5 separate regions of the Homo sapiens genome follow, and all the other regions are linked to region 1. Evidence: promoter capture Hi-C in 16 types of primary human blood cells and fetal thymus (Javierre and others, 2016). All regions are on one chromosome and are shown on one strand. The core of a region is centred on a gene start or on the middle of the fragment in contact, and the rest is flanking DNA. Distances in the headings are between cores, read along the strand shown.

What was found. The method cuts DNA at HindIII sites, captures the fragments that hold promoters and counts their contacts. A CHiCAGO score of 5 or more calls a contact.
Region 2: a contact is called between the fragment with the promoter of VAMP4 here and the fragment with the promoter of PRDX6 in region 1, in 3 of 17 cell types (activated CD4 T cells, non-activated CD4 T cells and fetal thymus). The highest score is 8.4, in activated CD4 T cells.
Region 3: a contact is called between the fragment with the promoter of DNM3 here and the fragment with the promoter of PRDX6 in region 1, in 1 of 17 cell types (activated CD4 T cells). The highest score is 6.3, in activated CD4 T cells.
Region 4: a fragment that was not itself captured here is called in contact with the fragment with the promoter of PRDX6 in region 1 in 1 of 17 cell types (neutrophils); the score reaches 10.3 in neutrophils.
Region 5: a fragment that was not itself captured here is called in contact with the fragment with the promoter of PRDX6 in region 1 in 1 of 17 cell types (neutrophils); the score reaches 7.8 in neutrophils.

Annotation. Positions count from the first base shown.
Region 1 is chr1:173,475,943-173,478,783 of GRCh38, reverse strand. It overlaps PRDX6 (peroxiredoxin 6), which reads right to left and starts at 1,449. Exons shown (of 5, transcript NM_004905.3): 1 at 1,292-1,449. The coding sequence starts at 1,386. LOC100506023 (a long non-coding RNA gene) reads left to right here and starts at 1,629. Exons shown (of 3, transcript NR_037845.1): 1 at 1,629-2,152. RefSeq lists enhancers at 1,251-1,410, 1,908-2,444 and a silencer at 1,481-1,650. The HindIII fragment of the contact is 1,817 bases long and covers 1-1,761 here.
Region 2 is chr1:171,740,590-171,743,430 of GRCh38, reverse strand. VAMP4 (vesicle associated membrane protein 4) reads left to right here and starts at 1,366. Exons shown (of 8, transcript NM_003762.5): 1 at 1,366-1,521. The HindIII fragment of the contact is 4,907 bases long and covers 197-2,841 here.
Region 3 is chr1:171,840,089-171,842,929 of GRCh38, reverse strand. DNM3 (dynamin 3) reads right to left here and starts at 1,432. Exons shown (of 21, transcript NM_015569.5): 1 at 1,113-1,432. The coding sequence starts at 1,273. RefSeq lists an enhancer at 1,008-1,187 and a silencer at 1,388-1,617. The HindIII fragment of the contact is 4,190 bases long and covers 743-2,841 here.
Region 4 is chr1:175,013,744-175,016,584 of GRCh38, reverse strand. It overlaps MRPS14 (mitochondrial ribosomal protein S14), which reads left to right. Exons shown (of 3, transcript NM_022100.3): 3 at 1,734-2,841. The coding sequence ends at 1,916. Among named protein-coding and RNA genes, the nearest start is that of MRPS14, 8.3 kb to the left of the region's middle. The HindIII fragment of the contact is 1,233 bases long and covers 725-1,957 here.
Region 5 is chr1:174,740,437-174,743,277 of GRCh38, reverse strand. All of the region lies in intron 17 of RABGAP1L (RAB GTPase activating protein 1 like), which reads right to left. Among named protein-coding and RNA genes, the nearest start is that of RABGAP1L-AS1, 210 kb to the left of the region's middle. The HindIII fragment of the contact is 3,092 bases long and covers 1-2,841 here.

The DNA.
Region 1 (2,841 bases), core at 200-2,699:
ATAGGCATATGATGTGTAAGAATCTGTCCCTGGTTCTCTGCACAGCCCTGTCCAATCACTGATTAATTTCATAAGCCTGTCTCCCTGGATACTGTATATAAAAAGGATATAATCTGGGGAAGAACTGTTGTCAAGCCTTGGAGCCCCACAGTGTAGTGGGACCACTAGTACTCCAGAACCATAATATAACTAGACATGCCTGGAATGCTTCTGATGAAAACTAAGCAACTTCCAGTTTGCTGATTCAGGAGCTGTTAAAAAAAAAAAAGGGCAACACCGATTTACTACTCCTATCCATAATGGTAAAACTGCCAAGTCAGATCACAGGTCATCAATTTGGCTATCATCAGCAAGCTCATGTGCTAGAAGCAAGGTAGAAAGCGGAGGGGACAGTGAGGGGCAAGCCACTGGAAAACAAGAGAGTCTCAAAGTTGGGGAGTACACGTGTCCTGGAGCCTGGAACGGCCATCACTAGCAAGAATAGGCCACTCCAGCGGAACAGCGTCAGAAAGTCCTTCCCTCCAAGTGTTGCAAGTTCTGGAATCTCTGAAGGCACACCTACGCAGAGTGTTCTTGGCTCTTCCTAAAGCTGTTATCAAATCATATCTTGGCCATTGGAGGCGGCTCTGGACAAAAAGTCTTTCGGCCACCTACTTGGCAGCTAGTGGTTTTAAATTTCACATTTTGTGCCCAGAAGCCTGCAAATACCACTGCACCCTCAGATGATACGTTGGCCTTCCTGTAACCTATAGCCAGCAGCTGTGTCCTCCGACTTTGGCTTTAGACACCCATCCTCCCCAGGGAGCAAATTCCAGAACGGAGGGTGGGAGGGCGGTGCGACCCTGGGCACTAGTCCGGGGAAGTGATCGTCAATGCCGCCCCGCCCCTGCGCCCTCGGCCTGACCACGCTACCTGCACAGTTTACTAAGACGAGTTAAATGGACAACAAACCCTCCCGCGGGCGGTGAGTTTCCAGAACCCGCAGAACACAATTTTATCCTCCCCACCCCCCACCTTGGCGTGGCCTTGCCCAGCCACGCCGGAGGCGGGGAGGCCAGGAGGGATCGAGTGGCCCGCGCAGGGCAGGCCGAACGGGTGCCAGCTCCCAGCAGCGCAGCCGACGCTGAGCAGAGGCCACACGGCCTGGCGCGCGCCGGAACCAGTGCGGGGGAAGGCGAGGGCGGCGCAGGGGGCTGAGCGGCCGGGAGGACGGCAGGGAGAAGAAACAGGGAAGGCACCTCCGAGTCCGGCGCAACCGAGGCCAGGACAGGGCTACGCGGTGGCCACTTACGAGTCTCCCAGAAAGTCGTGGAAACGGATGCGGCCGACGGTGGTATTGGCCTCAAAGTTGGGAGCCACGTCCCCGAGAAGCAGACCTCCGGGCATGGCGACGGTGATGAGGGGGCGCCGCTGGGACAGCAAGCAACCGGTTGGTTCTGGCGAAGAAGCAGCCTGTCCCAGCGCGCGGAGGAATAAACGAAGGCGCGAGGGGCGGGGACTGGGGCGGCGGGGGCGGGGCCGCGGGAGGCCGGCCGCTGGGGGCCGGGCCGCGGGGGCTGGGCTGGGCGCGGGGCGGGGCGGGGCTGGGCGCGGGGCGGGGCTGGGCCGGGCCGGGCTGGGGCCGGGACGCGGCGCGAGCTGGACTACCGCGGTCGCTGTTGGTGGCGCCGCCGGGCCTGCGACTAGGTGGCATCCTTCAGACACTATAGGCCGTCTCTGCACACGTGATGCGGGGCTCGGTCACGTTGCCCCCTGGAAGCTTGAGGATGCGCCAGGTTTGACTCTGCAGGGCGTACGCGCTTTAGGGATGGAAGGAAGAGGAACGCGGCAGGAAGGCGAGCCCCAAGGTGGAGAATCGCCTGGGCGCGCAGGCTGCGGCGGCTTCGCACAGCCGCCCTGGGCGCTGCACGGGTCCGCGCGCACCCTGCTGCGCACCCACTCGCGGCCAGCTCCCTACAGAGGAGTGGAGTGACTGCTCGACTACCACCCCTCTTTTAGTGTGAGCGTCTGGAGTCCTGACCGCCCCAGCCAGCCCAGCTACGATGAACTGTCTAAGAGGATGTGGCAAGACCCAGAAGTATGGGTGACCTTATGTCAGAGGAAGTGGCTTTCTTATTGCAGCAAAAATTCCCGTACCAATGTCAGTGCTAGGGTAATGTAACTAAACTTTTATTTATTTTTATTCTGCCCTCCCCTTTCTGTTTGTTATGAACCATAAAATATTCAACACAATTATCTTGAAATCTAAATATAAAATTTAAAACATACTCTTTGAGACCTACTGTGTGCAGGTCAACTCTGTCACCCAGGGAGGTGGGCGGCTTAGATTCATTTATTTGCTATGAGCCAAGTACAAGGTAGATAAGATGCCTGTCCTCTTGGAGCTTTCCTTCTTGTGAAGGGAAACCGGTGACAGACAATAAGCACACAAACCAAAATATGTTAGACAGCAATCAGTCGTATTCAGAGAACTAAAATAGGGTTATGTGCCTAGAGGGTGACTGGGGGGCTGCTTTGGTTTGGGTGGTCTGGTCTGGGAAAGCCACCAGGATAATGTAGGTAAACTAGTCAGCTCACGGTAGGTGCTCTGGAAATGGTAGCTATCGTTTGGATGATGACACTGGCTCATGCAGTAACTCTTGCTTTGCCTGCTGTGTGCTGGACACTGTGCCAGGCCATACAGTGGAGAAACACAGTCCCTGCTGTTACAGGGAAGGCATATTTATATGCAATTATAATAAAATGTAGGGTAAATTCTGATGGGGGAAGGTGTAAATGATTGGAGTTCAGAGATGAGAAAAATCCTCTGGATGGGGCTGGCAGGTTTAAGGCAGGGGCATG
Region 2 (2,841 bases), core at 117-2,616, 1.7 Mb after region 1:
GCTTCTCTTCTAAGTGGGCCGTTTCAGTCCAAGTTGCTGACTTGGACAGCAACTTGGACTGAATAAACACAGGCAACTGAGTTTAGCATTAAGCTTTCAGAACCTTCAACTGACAACTCAACGGCTGTTTCTAAATCTCAGAACATTTAAATCAGAATCTAGGTAGCACGTGGGCACCTACGTAGTTTTAAAAGCTTTCCAAGTGATTCAACTCCAAGTGAATCAGAGTGGAGCATCGTTGCCTTAGTCATGGCATCTTTCAAATTCGTTAGTACATTTTTACATAAAAATAAACATCAAACAAAAGAAGAACAACTTTTTGGTAAGAGGGTGTCTATTCTTTCCTTTCCTTTAGTGTCCGCAGATCTTTCCTCCTGCTGTTTTCTTGTCTACTCTTGTTCTTGAACACCCCCTCTTATTTTTATGTCTTTAGAAAGTGCCTGGCACAGTATTTCAGACAGTTAAAATACTGTATCAACAAAGGACCCATAGATACTGTATTAATTTTAAAAGATGTGTAGTGAATATGATTCAATGAGTAAAATAATCCAGCTGGGGCGTGGGAGGAACGGATAATAAAACAAATAAGAGAACGGAAAAACAAAATTAGGAATTGTTTCTGGTAGACAGCTACTGCGGGCGTGGAGATCTAAACATGATACCAAATTGGGCGGAGGGGGAGGGAGTGAGGAAGGAATGGGCAGAGTGGCGGAATGGCCTGGCGAGGGCGATTTCCTGAAGGCTTTCAGGTTACAACTAAGGGATACCGGGAAAAGAACACCGAGCCCTCGTCCCGTATCTATCTAAACTAGCCGTGTTAACTTTAAGTCAATCTCCTCTCTGAACCAGATATTCCTCCTATCTAAAGGGAGGAGCCTGGCCTTAACATCTCTTTCCAAGTCTAGCTCTAATTCTGTAAACAGGGGATCAAACAGATCTCCTTTCTTCAGAAAAGGCCCCAGACGAACCCGAAGCAGGTCCTCGAGCTGCGAGCCACTCTCCACTTGCCACTCAACGTAGTCAGCCAGAGGGACGGATGTGCCACCAAGCACCACCTTCTTTCTAACGCCTCATCACCCCAGCCACGCACTCCGGCGCGGCGCCCAGTCCCGAGCGGTTCTCGGAAGTTTCCCACTCCTCCCCTAATCGCCCTCCACGCACGCCGGATCACGACCGGAACGTGGACAACCAGTGGTTGTTCCTCCCCTAAAGCACAGCATAAATTTGGAGAGATGCATCTAAACTGCGTGTGGGTTCGGGCTCTTTTAGGTGAATAGGGCTCGGCGGATCGACTTCCTCGATTATCTCCGTGCCCTGGACCCGCCCCCTCCGCCTGGCGCCAGGCCGCCGAGCGCCGATCGGCTCGATGAGCGGAGGCGCTGCTGCGGCGCTGCGGCCGACGCCGGGTCCGCACCAACTGTCTCCCCCTCCCAGCTTCTTACCTCGGCTTCCTACTCCTTCCCCCGCCCGCCCAGCACCGCCAGCCCGGGAGAGCTGCCGGGAGTTCCCCGGGAGCCTCAGGTACTGGCGCTGGCCTGTTCGCAGCGGGAGGGGCTGGTGTGAGGAGGAAGGAAACGAAGAAGACGCCCCTGCCTTGCCGCCCCCCGACGTCCTAGTCGGGCTGGTCGGCGGGCCTCGGGGATCTAGGAAGGGACCCCGGAGTGGGAAAAGGTTGGGGCCGGGGGTGCCGTGAGGAAGGAAGACGAGGACAGGGGTATGCGGACGAGGAGCAGTTGAGGGAGAGAAGAATTGGAATTGAGGGGTACTCTGGGGTGATGGGAAGAGAACAGTACCATGGATGGGGAAGGTTTGTTAAGAGTGGGATGTAGTGAGGAATTCCAGGGGGTACAATGGGGCAGGAAGGGCCAGCGTTAGGAGCAGATATATCGTGGGACGTGGCCTGGTGTGACAGATTGGGTGTGGGGGGTGAACGGAGCTGCCTGAAATTGTGTATTTAAAGGGCCCGGGGGAAAGAGCGCCAACCCTGCTGTGTTTATAATGACCGGAAGGTGGGGGTGAATCGTTACACTTGACAGGTTTTGCAAATAATATCTCCGGTCTGTGTCCATCCAAGTCACTTTATTTCTGTGAAACTGCATCAAGCAAGAAGGCTGATGACAGACAAGGAAGACGAATCAGAAAGAGAATGGAGGCTGGGAAAAGGAGAGCCTTTGCCCAGATTCAAAGCTATTGACTAGATAACGTACTACTTACAAAAACGCACACATAGACATTTAAGTATATGCTGATGTATAAGAAGCATACGGTGATGTGACTCATTTGAGTGAATTGTATAGTGGTGGTCTATCCTCAATGTGGAAGTACATGATGGCTCTCTTATTTACATGTATACCTAGTCACAAACAGCTGAATTCACATGTCTTTTTTTGTAGGAGAAATCTTAGGCAGACTATATCCTAGTCTACTTTCTGAGCATGATTTATTTCTACTAGTTGTTTGATACACATATCAGTTACTAATAATCAGTTGCAAATAACATCAAAGTTCATCAAGGTAGCTAATTAATCTGCCTACTGCTTTGCTGATGGGCTATTTGTTGCACATGGTTTCTTGGGATTAAGAGACCTGAATATGGTGTTTGCTCATCCTTAAGATTGTAGTTTTACTGTATGTCTTATAAAGGCATTATATAAGTCTGCCCGTTGTTTGCTTTGGGATGTTGAGGCAGCCTCATTGCAGGGGTTAAAATCTAAATACAGATAATAGTTAAAAGCACAAGTTCTTCAGTAATTTGCCTTGTCATCTGTTTTTCCATGCATTCTGTTACATTTCTGCATGAATGAAGTATTCTGACATCAAAGTATGAGGAATAAAAGGGCC
Region 3 (2,841 bases), core at 183-2,682, 1.6 Mb after region 1:
TGGTTTTCTATTACTAGGAAACAGATTTCAGTTTTCATAATGCTTTTAAATGGGCTTTTCTTAGCAAATGTCTGCACTCTTCAGGCAAGGCCATTAAGGTAACTTAATCCCTCATGAATTGCTCAGTGGAAGAAATGCTGATTCCTAATTCGAAAATTAATTCCTTAGCTGTTTCTGTATTAAGAGTCATGAGGAAAACCACAGCTACAATTTAGATTCAGAATGTTGTCTTGAAGGCTAGCAAGACAAATAGGAGCTTAGAGAACGGAAGATGATGCTGGGGGAGGGGGCGCAGAGAGAGTGCGAGAAAGATGCTGGTCAGTTCCGAGATGATGCAGGAATGACATGGCACCTGGACAACATAAGTCCACGTCCACCCCCTGCCAAGTCTGTGCCTCGGGCTCTCTCACAATTGCCTGAAGCTGTGAATAGGTGCACACGCAAACACACCACCTTTTATTCTTCGACTCTCCGGGAGGAGAATGGTGGGGAAGCGTCTCTGGATAAAGCTTCACCACAACAAACGACGTCTTTCTCCTCGCACCCCGCCTCCCCAGCTAGAGGCAGGCAACAGTAGACAGCTGAGAGGAACGAGAACCCTGGCGAGAAGGAAAGCATCTCCACCTAAGGGAGGGGGCTCGGGGGATAAAGCCCCACAGCCTCACAGGGAGCCTCACGGAGGGCGACAGGAAAAGGAGGGGGGTGTTGAGCTGGGAAAACAGGAGAGGGGCACTGGGAAGCTTTCGGCGCGCTACGCAGGGAGGCTGCCCGGGGCTGGCGCGCACCGAGGGGGTGGGGGTCGAGCCCGGGGCGGACCCCTCCCCCGACTCCCCGACTGGAGGACAGGGAGGAAATGGCTTTGTATCGCACGATGAAAGGCAGGCAGGAGGGCCACCAGGCGGGGGGTGGCAGGGGACGGAGGATGCCCAGAGCTGGAGGACCCCGCCCGCCCCACGGACACCGCCACTCTGCCCCCCATTCCACTCTGCCCCCCATTCCACCGCAGCGCCTGGTCCATCCACCCTCTGGCTCCCGCTGCCCGTCCACGTTCCAACGGCCCGCAGCGGGGTCGCCCCACTGCCGCATCCTTACTCCGCGCCCTGCGCGCTTACCTGCCCACGAAGTTCTCGAGCACCGAGCTCTTGCCGGCGCTCTGGCCGCCCACCACGGCGATCTGCGGCAGCTCCAGCAGGCAGCTCTGTCCCAGCGCCGAAAACGCGTCCTGCAGACGGTTCACCAGCGGGATCAGCTCCTCCATCTCCCGGTTCCCCATCTTGCCCGAGGGGCCGGCGACCAGCTGGTCCCTGCTCGCCTCTACGACCTGACAGGGAGTAGGGGCCGCGCTGCCCTGGCTGCTGCTGCTGCGCCGGGCTCAGCCAGCCAGGTCCTGGCGCAGACGTCGGAGCCCGCCGCCAGCCCGCCGCTTGGCTCTGACAGCTAACGACCCGCAGCGCGCCTGCGCGGGCGGGCAGGGGCGTGGCCTATCTCCGCGACGCCCCGCCCCCGCCCCGCGGCTGCCCCGCCCCGGGCTTCCCATCGGACCACCAGGCCAGGCGCGCACGCACTGCAGCCCAGCTGCGGCCAGATGCCACGGCCTCTGCGTTCTGTGGCCAAGGCTCAGAGGCCAAGTTACAGCGCCGGGTCAGGAAATGGCATGAAATCAGCAGCAGCGGCAGCGTTGTTCTCTTTCAGCGGCTACCAAGCCAAAGCCCAGTGGAAAGCACTATCGCCGCTAACACCACCACACGATCACCAGCAACAGCAGCACCGCCGCCGCCACCACCGGGGCACCGCTGCCAGACTACACTTCCCGAAAGGAAATCTCCTCTGTCACGCCCTTCTCCAGAATCCGCGATGACTCCTCCCAGGGTGGCAGGCCTGTTGGAGTCTAAATTCTTCAATGTGACATCCATCTAAGGCCCTGAGTGGTCTGACCTTACTTAATTCTTCATCTGTAATGACTCGTCCTCCCCAGCCCCGCATAAGCACAGGTAGAGTCTGTAGGGTTTACCGCCCCGATACACCCCTTTAATCACTCTGGCCTGTGAGACTCCTCATGCCATTTGCCCTCCCGGTCTATCTCCTTCTACCGGATCTATCCAGAACCAGGTACCCTGGACGCATTCTGTGAAATTTAGCACATTGAGAAGTGACTGTGTGTGGGGTCCTGTGCCTGATGATCGGGACACAAAGATAAATGGCCATGCTTCTCTTAGCCTCCACAGACGGTTCCTTTTTAGTCTGCTCCTCAAATACTGATGCTTCGCAGGGTTTCATATATGGGCATTTTCTTGTCTAATGTTTGTCCTCTGCCTGAGGACTTTCCCATAGCTTTAACTCTGAATCAAGGCTGGCGACTACAGAAATTTACATTGCTAGACCCTGTCTCTCTTCTGCAACTTAGACTGTACTCCAAGAGGAGCCCAGAATACTACCTGAGTGTCCTACAAGTACTACAGACTCAATTTATTCAAAACTGAAGTCATCTTTTGTAATCTCAGCATTTAATGTACAGTTCCTTCTAACTCTAAAAAGACATATTAAAATGTTCATAATGTCAAAAAACCTGAAAACAACCCAAATGTCTATCAACAGGTGAATGAATAAACAAACGTGGTATATATATATAGTGAAATAATCTCTGCCACAAAAAAGACTTTTGATATAGCAACAATCTCAGATACATTATGTAGAATGAAAAAGGCCAAAGACCATATTGGTTTGATTTCATGTATGTGAAGTTCTACAACCAGCAAAGCTATTCTATGGTAATAGAAATCGGAACTGTGGTTGTCTTTGAGGAGTGGAGATTGACTGTAGGAGGCATGAGGAAACTTTCTG
Region 4 (2,841 bases), core at 92-2,591, 1.5 Mb before region 1:
GCAGCAATAACTGTGCAGAGTCTGTGAATCATGTAAACTGATCATGGTTCTCTGCTGCCTGCCAAGTAGCTTACAAGTCAAATTTATGTCCCAGTTCTAATTTCACAGCATGCACTTTTGTGTCCTGAGGCTTTTATCTTTCCTACTCTCATTTCTCTTTGCCCCAGTTTCCTCATTTGTAAACTGCCTTAAATCTTTCGGGGAACAAGAAGGAAGGGGTATGTATCAATCAATCAATCCATAATTTCTAGCCATTCTTTAAGGTCCACCTCCATGAAACTTGGCTTCAATCTTCTTGCCCAGTCATTTCTCCTCTCCAGTTCCTTGTATAGCATTTATTGTTTACTACTCAATGGCTCAATCATGGTTTTTTTTTGTTTTTTTTTTTTTGAGATGGGGTTTTGCTCTTGTTGCCCAGGCTGGAGTGCAGTGGCACAATCTGGGCTCACCACATCTGCCTCCTGGGTTCAAGCGATTCTGCTGCCTTAGCCTCCCGGCCAGATGGGATTACAGGCATGTGCCACCACACCCAGCTAATTTTGTATTTTTAGTAGAGATGGGGTTTCCCTATGTTGGTCAGGCTGGTCGCGAACTCTTGACCTCAGATGATCCGCCTGCCTCGGCGTCCCAAAGTGCTGGGATTATAGGCGTGAGCCACTGTGCCTGGCAATCATGTTGTTTTATGTAATTCTGTTAGTTCATAATGGTAACACATGCATAAGCTTTTGTTAATTTTTGGCTTTTATATACTTTCATTTAATTTGTGTTATTTTAATGTGTTATTTTGCTTGCACCGCAGTCTAGCACAGGGTCCATCTACTTGTTAGCACACTTATCAGATTAAAGTGAATATTATGAACACTCACACTCTTGAACACATACATAAGAAGAAATCTCTACTGACAAAACCTGAGCCCTAGCTACTGCTGTAATCCCTACTTTTCTCCCCTCAACCACTTTGCCCTTACCTGATTCATCCTCTACCTTGCAAATGATTTTTTTTAAATATAAACCTCATCTGATCTCTCCCCTTTACTTCTCTAGCTGTCAGAATCTTTACCATAGACATCAGGGCTCCATGTGATACTCTCCTTCCTCCTTCTCTAGTCTTATCTCAAGCCACATTCCCTCCTATTTGATCATCATTCCAGAGGTTTCACTTTCGTGATTCAAAAAACATGAGGCGGCAACAGAAATACATTCACATACTTTACAAATGAGTTAAACAAGAGTATGTAGCTGCACTATTTATATTCGCCCAAATCGTAAGATGACCATCAAATGTAGGATGGATAAATGAATTATGGTACTCATGCAATGAACATTACCTGCCAGTGGCCAGGCGCTGTGGCTCACACCTGTAATCCTAGCACTTTGGGAGGCAGAGATGGGCGGATTGCCAGAGCTCAGGAGTTTGAGACCAGCCTGGGCAACGTGGTGAAACCCCGTTTCTACTAATAATACAAAAAATTAGCTGAGTGTGGTAGTGCACACCTGTAATCTCAGCTACTCGGGAGGCTGAGGCAGGAGAATCACTTGAACCCAGGAGGCGGAGGTTGCAGTGAGCTGAGATTGTGACATTGCACAATCTAACACCCACAGCCTGGGTGACAGAGCGAGACTCTGTCTCAAAAAAAAAAAAAAAAGAAAAGAAAATTACCTGCAAGTGAGAAGGAGCAAAATACATGTGCAACAATGTAATGTGATCTGTGTAATAATGTGATTTCCCTTAGGATGTGGCTGATGAAGAAATTGCTGCCCTCCCCCGGGATAGCTGTCCTGTTAGAATCAGAAATCGGTGTGTTATGACGTCCCGTCCGCGTGGTGTGAAGCGGCGCTGGAGGCTTAGTCGTATAGTCTTCCGTCACTTAGCTGACCATGGGCAACTTTCTGGGATCCAGCGAGCGACATGGTAAATGAGCTCCAGAACCTATTGAGCTTGCAGGGAAGCCAAGCTTGCAGTTCCAGCAAGCAAAGATTTTTTTTAATAGACCAAACCCTAATCTCTACAGGGGCCCAGTACAGTTGTTTGGCCTACCTGATGCTATCTCTAAACTACTTTTAAAATGAAGACATTTGGGTGTTTCATGTCAGTGAATTATCTTTTCTCTTGGACTTAACAAACATACTGTTCCCATACATAGTACAAAGAGTAGCATAATAAATATTTTCTGTGAATGTTTTTTATACCCTCCTTTTAAGTTTAATCTTTTAGTAACATATAGGGGTTTTTGTATTAAGAGCATTATTTCATAAAATGCTATCTTATACATAATCCAACTAATTGACATGTAGCTCATGTATGGCAGTTTGTAATCCTGGACTAGCTTTGCTGACCTGCAGAGCTCCCCTTAACTATTATTGTTAGATAAACAGATTGGATAGCAAGGCTGCTGTTCTGGATTATCTAATGCTCCACTTCTTCTTGTGATGGCTGAACAAAAGAACCACTAAGTGTTTTCTTGTCCATCCTTAAGGGACTTTAAAACAAATTATGCCTCTTTAAGTCCTTGAAAGTCTCCATCTAAAGAGGAAAAGTTTGTTGGAACAGTATATATTCCCTATTTTTATGTTTATTTAATCCATAACAGAAATGAGTAAGGGTAGCACAAAGTTCTCATTCAGTAACTCAACAGTGTGATCATCAGCCCAGTGATAAAAATATACATACTGAATGGAAGTACCTACTTAACATCAGGAAAATATTCCTGGAGAACTTAATAAATCAGGAGGTGAGGGGTGAGATTTTTTTCTGCACACAGAGGGAACAAAAGCACAAAGAAGCAAAGGCACTCTGTAGCATCAGAGAACCACAGTCACTTCAGTAGATCAGAAATATGA
Region 5 (2,841 bases), core at 191-2,690, 1.3 Mb before region 1:
ATAATGAGATGAGGGCCCCTCATTCACCATAATTGCTTCCTTACCCCTCTCTAGTTCCTGTTTCTTACATATTGCTATATCTCTTCCCTGCTATATAAGTCCCTAGTTTCAGTTTGTCAGGGAGATGGATTTGAGACTGAGCTCCCATCTCATCTCGTCTGCTGCAGCCCCCAATTAAAGCCTTCTTCCTTGGCAATAATCATCATCTTAGTCATTGGCTTTCTGTGCTGTGAGCAGCAGGACCTAGACTGAACCCCTGGTGTTGTGGTAACATATTCATCATATGTCAAGCATTTTGAGGACATTTACAAAGATGGATAAGTCATCCCTACACTCAGAGGACTCCCAGATTAGGATAGCAGATAAAAATATAAACAGATAACACACCACCTAGGGAATGATAGGGAGGTATGACCTGAACATTAGAGCACTGAAGTATTGCTATAAAGTCCCTAAACACATGTTCCATTGGCCATTGAATACTGGCATTCACCTTTCTGTTCTTCTCAAATTCTCTTAAGTCATGATACACATCGGATTATATTGTTTTACAGTTATAGTTATCAGTCAACCATCCCAGGCTGCAGGGGTGCTTTTGATACTCTTCATAATGATACAGGACTTCTTATCAGCTACTATTAGCTGATCTTGACCTTCTCCTTCCTCCAGGCTTCTGCCAGTTTTCCATTAACCCAATCCATCCAGAAATCTTTTGTTAGAGTTCTTGTGCTCATACCACTTTTCTTTCTTCCTTTTTCTTTGAAATGAAGTCTTGCTCTGTCGCTTAGGCTGGAGTGCAGTGGCGCGATCTCAGCTCACTGCAACCTCCGCCTCCTGGGCTTAAGCAAATCTCCTGCCTCAGCCTCCCGAGTAGCTGGGATTACAGGTGTGCGCCACTACACTCAACTAATTTTTGTATTTTTAGTAGAGATGGGTTTCACCACATTAGTTAGGCTGGTCTCGAACTCCTGACCTCAAGTGATCCACCTGCCTTGGCCTCCTAAAGTGCTGGGATTACAAGCTGAGCCACCGCATCTGGCCCCCTTTTCTTTCTTCTTCTTCTTTCCTCCTCCTCCCCCTCCCCCTCCTCCTCTTCTTCTTCTTTCCTCCTCCTCCCCCTCCCTCTCCTCTTCCTCTTCTTCTTTCTTCCTCCTCCCCCTCCCCCTCCTCCTCTTCTTCTTCTTTCCTCCTCCTCCCCCCTCCCCCTCCTCTTCCTCTTCTTCTTCTTCTTTTTTTTTTGAGACAGGGTCTTGCTCTGTCACCCAGGCTGGAGCATAGTAGTGCTATCATGGCTCACCACAGCCTCAACCTTCCAGGCTCAAGCAATCCTCCCACCTCAGCCTCCCAAGTAGCTGGGTCTATAGGCGCATGCCACCATGCCTGGCTAATTTTTCTACTTTTTTTTTTTTTTTTTTTTTTTTTGTAGAAATAGGCTTTTGCCATGTTGCCCAGGCTGGTCTCAAACTCCCCACTTAAAAAAAAAATCCTTAAAAATGCCACAACATGGTATAAAAGTAGCCACATAGACCAGTAGAACAAAACAGAGAACTCAGAAATAAAGACACATAGTTACAGCCAACTGATCTTCAACAAAGCCAACAAGAATTTATACTGGGGGCCGGGTACAGTGGCTCACACCTGTAATCCCAACACTTTGGAAGGCTGAGGCAGGAGGATTGCTTGAACCCAGGAGTTCAAAACCAGCCTAGGCAACAGAGTGAGACCCCATCTCTACAAAAAATAAAACACCAGTCAGGTGTGGCAGCAAATGCCTGTAGTCTGAGCTACTTGGGAGGGTGAGGCAGGGGGATCATCTGGGCCCATGAGGTTGAGGCCACAGTGAGCAGTGATCATGCCACTGCACTCCAGCCTGGGTGACAAGGCAAGACTCTGTCTCAAAAAAACACAAAAACAAACAACAAAAACTTACACTGGGGAAAGGACAATCTCTTCAATAAACGGTGCTGGGAAAATTGTATAGCCATGCAGAAGAATGTAACTGGACCATTATCTCACCATATACAAAAATGAACTCAAAGTAGATTAAAGACTTAAAAGTAAAACCTGATACTATAGAAATATTAGAAGAAAAAATCTAGGGAACCCTCTCCTGGTTGTTGGTTTAGGCAAAGAATTTGTTACAAAGGCCTCAAAAGATCAGGCAACAAAACCAAAAATAAGTGATTGGGAATTAATTAAACTAAAAAGCTCCCACACACAAAAAAAAAAAAACAAAACAAAAAAATCAACAGAGTGAAGAGACAACCTGCAGAATGGGATAAAATATTTGCAAATTATTTATCCAACAGGAACTAATATATAGAACAGATAAGGAACTCAACTCAACAGGAAAAAAACAAATAATCCCATTCATACTTGGGCAAAGTATATGAATAGCCATTTCTCAAAAAAATAAATACAAACAGCCAACAGGTATATGAAAAAATGTTCAACCTCATGAATCATCAGAGAAATGCAAATCAAAACCACAATGAGATAGCATACCTCAGCCAGAATCCCTATTATTAAAAAAGACAGATGTTGACAAGAAAGTGGAGAAAAGGGAACTCATATACACTGTTGGTGGGAATGTAAACTAGTACAGCCACTATGGAAAACAGTATGGAGATTTCTCAAAAAAATAAAAATATAATTACCATTTGATCCAGCAATGCCACTACTGGGAATCGACTCAAAGAAAAAGAAGTCAATATATCAAAGAACTCACATATATACAGTTAGGAGGCTTTAAAACACTCAAGAAGTGGTATGTAATTTTGCCTGGAAACAGCTGATGAATTGAGCAAGAGGCTGTACCGAGACTGACACACCAGGAAATGC